Regions from separate parts of the Homo sapiens genome. Here region 2 is linked to region 1. The links are contacts of gene promoters, found by promoter capture Hi-C in blood cells and fetal thymus (Javierre and others, 2016). All regions are on one chromosome and are shown on one strand. The core of a region is centred on a gene start or on the middle of the fragment in contact, and the rest is flanking DNA. Distances in the headings are between cores, read along the strand shown. Region 1 holds the start of IL1A (interleukin 1 alpha). Region 2 overlaps CKAP2L (cytoskeleton associated protein 2 like).

What was found. Contacts are between HindIII fragments. The CHiCAGO score rates a contact against its expected background, and 5 or more counts as called.
Region 2: a contact is called between a fragment that was not itself captured here and the fragment with the promoter of IL1A in region 1, in 2 of 17 cell types (M2 macrophages and endothelial precursors). The highest score is 5.5, in M2 macrophages.

The regions. Positions count from the first base shown.
Region 1 is chr2:112,782,777-112,785,994 of GRCh38, reverse strand. It overlaps IL1A (interleukin 1 alpha), which reads left to right and starts at 1,502. Exons shown (of 7, transcript NM_000575.5): 1 at 1,502-1,552; 2 at 2,217-2,271. The coding sequence starts at 2,225. The HindIII fragment of the contact is 4,198 bases long and covers 69-3,218 here.
Region 2 is chr2:112,748,749-112,751,887 of GRCh38, reverse strand. All of the region lies in intron 5 of CKAP2L (cytoskeleton associated protein 2 like), which reads left to right. Among named protein-coding and RNA genes, the nearest start is that of CKAP2L, 14 kb to the left of the region's middle. RefSeq lists an enhancer at 1,834-1,883. The HindIII fragment of the contact is 678 bases long and covers 1,472-2,149 here.

The sequences.
Region 1 (3,218 bases), core at 253-2,752:
TAAGCAGAAATGTAGCCAGTTGGCTGGCATCACTGTTGCTTCAGGATTCATCCTTAGACACCCAAGCTTCTACCCTAGTCTGGTGCTACACTTACATTGCTTACATCCAAGTGTGGTTATTTCTGTGGCTCCTGTTATAACTATTATAGCACCAGGTCTATGACCAGGAGAATTAGACTGGCATTAAATCAGAATAAGAGATTTTGCACCTGCAATAGACCTTATGACACCTAACCAACCCCATTATTTACAATTAAACAGGAACAGAGGGAATACTTTATCCAACTCACACAAGCTGCTTTCCTCCCAGATCCATGCTTTTTTGCGTTTATTATTTTTTAGAGATGGGGGCTTCACTATGTTGCCCACACTGGACTAAAACTCTGGGCCTCAAGTGATTGTCCTGCCTCAGCCTCCTGAATAGCTGGGACTACAGGGGCATGCCATCACACCTAGTTCATTTCCTCTATTTAAAATATACATGGCTTAAACTCCAACTGGGAACCCAAAACATTCATTTGCTAAGAGTCTGGTGTTCTACCACCTGAACTAGGCTGGCCACAGGAATTATAAAAGCTGAGAAATTCTTTAATAATAGTAACCAGGCAACACCATTGAAGGCTCATATGTAAAAATCCATGCCTTCCTTTCTCCCAATCTCCATTCCCAAACTTAGCCACTGGCTTCTGGCTGAGGCCTTACGCATACCTCCCGGGGCTTGCACACACCTTCTTCTACAGAAGACACACCTTGGGCATATCCTACAGAAGACCAGGCTTCTCTCTGGTCCTTGGTAGAGGGCTACTTTACTGTAACAGGGCCAGGGTGGAGAGTTCTCTCCTGAAGCTCCATCCCCTCTATAGGAAATGTGTTGACAATATTCAGAAGAGTAAGAGGATCAAGACTTCTTTGTGCTCAAATACCACTGTTCTCTTCTCTACCCTGCCCTAACCAGGAGCTTGTCACCCCAAACTCTGAGGTGATTTATGCCTTAATCAAGCAAACTTCCCTCTTCAGAAAAGATGGCTCATTTTCCCTCAAAAGTTGCCAGGAGCTGCCAAGTATTCTGCCAATTCACCCTGGAGCACAATCAACAAATTCAGCCAGAACACAACTACAGCTACTATTAGAACTATTATTATTAATAAATTCCTCTCCAAATCTAGCCCCTTGACTTCGGATTTCACGATTTCTCCCTTCCTCCTAGAAACTTGATAAGTTTCCCGCGCTTCCCTTTTTCTAAGACTACATGTTTGTCATCTTATAAAGCAAAGGGGTGAATAAATGAACCAAATCAATAACTTCTGGAATATCTGCAAACAACAATAATATCAGCTATGCCATCTTTCACTATTTTAGCCAGTATCGAGTTGAATGAACATAGAAAAATACAAAACTGAATTCTTCCCTGTAAATTCCCCGTTTTGACGACGCACTTGTAGCCACGTAGCCACGCCTACTTAAGACAATTACAAAAGGCGAAGAAGACTGACTCAGGCTTAAGCTGCCAGCCAGAGAGGGAGTCATTTCATTGGCGTTTGAGTCAGCAAAGGTATTGTCCTCACATCTCTGGCTATTAAAGTATTTTCTGTTGTTGTTTTTCTCTTTGGCTGTTTTCTCTCACATTGCCTTCTCTAAAGCTACAGCCTCTCCTTTCTTTTCTTGTCCCTCCCTGGTTTGGTATGTGACCTAGAATTACAGTCAGATTTCAGAAAATGATTCTCTCATTTTGCTGATAAGGACTGATTCGTTATACTGAGGGACAGCAGAACTAGTTTCCTATGAGGGCATGGGTGAATACAACTGAGGCTTCTCATGGGAGGGAATCTCTACTATCCAAAATTATTAGGAGAAAATTGAAAATTTCCAACTCTGTCTCTCTCTTACCTCTGTGTAAGGCAAATACCTTATTCTTGTGGTGTTTTTGTAACCTCTTCAAACTTTCATTGATTGAATGCCTGTTCTGGCAATACATTAGGTTGGGCACATAAGGAATACCAACATAAATAAAACATTCTAAAAGAAGTTTACGATCTAATAAAGGAGACAGGTACATAGCAAACTAATTCAAAGGAGCTAGAAGATGGAGAAAATGCTGAATGTGGACTAAGTCATTCAACAAAGTTTTCAGGAAGCACAAAGAGGAGGGGCTCCCCTCACAGATATCTGGATTAGAGGCTGGCTGAGCTGATGGTGGCTGGTGTTCTCTGTTGCAGAAGTCAAGATGGCCAAAGTTCCAGACATGTTTGAAGACCTGAAGAACTGTTACAGGTAAGGAATAAGATTTATCTCTTGTGATTTAATGAGGGTTTCAAGGCTCACCAGAATCCAGCTAGGCATAACAGTGGCCAGCATGGGGGCAGGCCGGCAGAGGTTGTAGAGATGTGTACTAGTCCTGAAGTCAGAGCAGGTTCAGAGAAGACCCAGAAAAACTAAGCATTCAGCATGTTAAACTGAGATTACATTGGCAGGGAGACCGCCATTTTAGAAAAATTATTTTTGAGGTCTGCTGAGCCCTACATGAATATCAGCATCAACTTAGACACAGCCTCTGTTGAGATCACATGCCCTGATATAAGAATGGGTTTTACTGGTCCATTCTCAGGAAAACTTGATCTCATTCAGGAACAGGAAATGGCTCCACAGCAAGCTGGGCATGTGAACTCACATATGCAGGCAAATCTCACTCAGATGTAGAAGAAAGGTAAATGAACACAAAGATAAAATTACGGAACATATTAAACTAACATGATGTTTCCATTATCTGTAGTAAATACTAACACAAACTAGGCTGTCAAAATTTTGCCTGGATATTTTACTAAGTATAAATTATGAAATCTGTTTTAGTGAATACATGAAAGTAATGTGTAACATATAATCTATTTGGTTAAAATAAAAAGGAAGTGCTTCAAAACCTTTCTTTTCTCTAAAGGAGCTTAACATTCTTCCCTGAACTTCAATTAAAGCTCTTCAATTTGTTAGCCAAGTCCAATTTTTACAGATAAAGCACAGGTAAAGCTCAAAGCCTGTCTTGATGACTACTAATTCCAGATTAGTAAGATATGAATTACTCTACCTATGTGTATGTGTAGAAGTCCTTAAATTTCAAAGATGACAGTAATGGCCATGTGTATGTGTGTGACCCACAACTATCATGGTCATTAAAGTACATTGGCCAGAGACCACACTGAAATAACAACAATTACATTCTCATCATC
Region 2 (3,139 bases), core at 561-3,060, 34 kb after region 1:
GTTTCTGTGTAAAGTTGGAGTATTCTGAATACTCTGGGTAGCTACAAATAGTATTTAAATTTTATCTTGGATTCTGCAGATAAGGATAAAATAGATGGTAGGCAAAGAGTATGATCCTTAGGAGAAATTTTTCCTGAAGGAAAAATATATTAATAAAAAATGATGGAATAAACTTCTAAGATCCTTGCCTAGAGCAAAACTCATTCAGTCCTTTGGCTGGTAATGTTGAACATCAGCAAAAAAAAGGAAAAGTTCAGTTTAAGTCTACTCCAGGCAACATTTTCACAACATCCAGTTAAATATTAACTATTTCTCCTTGTGGAATTGAACTTGAGTTCTTTTTCTTATCCTCTTTTTTTGTTGTTGTATTATTTAAAAATGAGTACCTTTTTATTATTGAAATCATTTCAAGTAATGCAGATAAATGATCAGCCCTCTCCCTCTACAAACATACATACTTAGGCATCCCAAACTTCTCTCTGGAGGTGACCACCATTGCCAGTCATTCATTCTGTTTTCATGCATGTCCATACAGTATAGGTATGTCGAGAAATGAAGTATTATATTTTTGTGAGTTGCAATTCTTTTATTCACATTTTTGTGTACTTTGGTTGTCTTTTCTTGTGTTTTCCTAGTACCAATGTTATGCTGACTTAGGCAGATGAGTTGAGTATTTTCCTTTTTGCCCTATAAACTGAAAATAGTTTGTATGACATGAGAATTATTTTTATTTTTTGAAGGTTTGATAAAAACTTGCCCATAAAAATCATCTGGACCGTGTTTCTTTGGAGGATAATTTTGTATATATCCTCTCAATTTGTTATGGGGTCATTGTTCTAGAGTTCATATATCTTGAGTCAACTTTAGTAATTTTGTGACTTTTTAAAGGGATTTTTTCTCAATCTTTTTAAAAGATCTCAGGTTTTATTGCCAAAGATTTTTTCTCATTAATCTTTTTAAAAGACCTCAGGTTTTATTGATTATTTTTTCTCTTGCATCAATGTCTGCATCTATTTTTATATTTATTGCTCTTTTCCTAGCTTTTTAATTGAAACCTTAGATCATTTAAAAGTGAGTCTTTCTTTTTTTTTTTTTTATAAATATGTTCAGTGCTATAGCAGATTTGCCTCTGAATTTTACTTTGGTCATATCCCTCAGATTTGACTAAGTAATACTCTTTATCAGTCAGGATCAAGTCTGAAAAACAAACCACAGAAAGAATGTAATTGGTTACACAGTATCTTATGTGGGTTCTCTAGAGGTGGAGCCTAAGAGGAGAATCCATGTGAAAGTAGTTTATTAGGAAGACACTCCAGGGAAAACTGGGAGGGGAGTGAAGTTGTAGGATCAGAAAAGCGAATCCATGGACGGTGACTCTGGCACAGCCCCACAGGGGAGCTCTGGAGACAGTGTAGGTCACATCTCTCAGAGTCATCCTGATCAGAGGCAAGGGAGCTACATTGTTAAAGCTTCCATGGTCATTTATTCATGGCTGCCTCGGGCGGACAAGAATTGTCAGGCACTTCTCACTCTCTGGGCACATACGAGGGAGCACAGATGCTGGCTGTGAAAGCACGCGGTAAGCCTGTGTGCACAAGATGCTGAAGGGATCAGAAGGAGTGTGGGTGCTACACACAGGGCTGACAGCACACAGGAACCTGAGGTAATGTGATAACTGTAGGAAGCAGCTTGTACCCACTGGGTCTAGGAGAACAAAGAGAGGTTAGGGTATCAGAACCAAGAAGCAGGAGAGACAAACCCTGGTAGAAATGGGACTCCAACTGTAAGGAAGGCATACTACCCAGCAGATGATGGAGGAGAGGCCCTGCAGGGCTGGGGCTCAGATTTTGAGGAAAAGATGCTATCCATTTGGTGCTTCTGCTCTGAAGCTGCACAGGGAGGTGGGCTCTGAGGGGGAAAAAAAGATGCTAGAACCAACTGTTACTGCCAGGGTGAGGGACCGTTGCTGGGGTGATGAAAGCAAATAGGAAGAAGCAAGTGTCTTCCTTCTCCATCCCTGCAGCCTCCCTCTCGTGCCCCCTGCTGGCAGAGCTGAGCAGGGAGCTGCTGCCCAGCAGAAAGTTTTACAGAGTTTTATCCCCAGCATCACAAAGCAGAGGATGGGGTTTGGGGCCAATAGACAAAAGCTTCATAACTGACATATCTTGTCATTGTTCATTTCTAAATAGCTTGAGATTCCCATTTTGAGTTCTTTAACCCAAAAAATATCTTAGAAAAGTATCTTTTAATTTCCAGATGTGTAGATTTTTTTTTTCTGCTGTTAATTTCTAATTATATTGCATTGTAGTTGGTGAATGTGGCCTATGTGTACTCTACTTGATGGATTTTGTTGAAATTTTCTTTGTGGCCTTAATATCTGATCATTCTTGGTAAATGTTCCAAAAGTGTTTGAAAATAATGTATATCCTATTTGTTTATTTGATCTATTGCTTTCTGAAAGAAATATGCCAAAGTCTGTCACTGGCACTGTGATTAATCATTGACAATTTCTCTTCATATGTCTGTCAATTTTTACTTTCTATTTTTTAAAGTTATGTTGTTAGGTACAGAAAGATTCATGACTTGCTTTGATTTCTTTTGTCTGATTAATCTTGCCACACCTGCTTTTTGTTGTTAGAATATGTCTGGTAGCTCTGGTAGCTCTTTTTCCATCCCTTTACTTTAAGCCTTCATGGGCTGACTTATTTTAGGTATGTCTCATATAAATGCACACAGTTAAATGTTTTAAACAAATTTGAAACTCTCTGCTTTTAAAAAGCAAATTTAGTTCGTACACATTTATTATGATTACTTGTATGTTTAAACTTATGCCTGCTATTTTATTTTGTAATTCAGCTTACATGAATTATTTTTTCCTCATTTCTGTGTTTAATCTAGTTTTATTTCATAAAATAATACACTGAAATGAAAATAAAGTGATAGATGTAAGCTCAAACATGATTTGCAGAATATATATCATATTCTTCTTGCAGTTCCTTTTTTCATTTTTTTTTTTTTTTTAAGAGACAGGGTTTCACTCTTTTGCCTAGATTGGAGTGCAGTGATGCCATCATAGCTCACTGCAACTTTAAACCTCCTGGGTGGACCCAAGTGATCCTCCACCTCAGCCTCCTGAGTA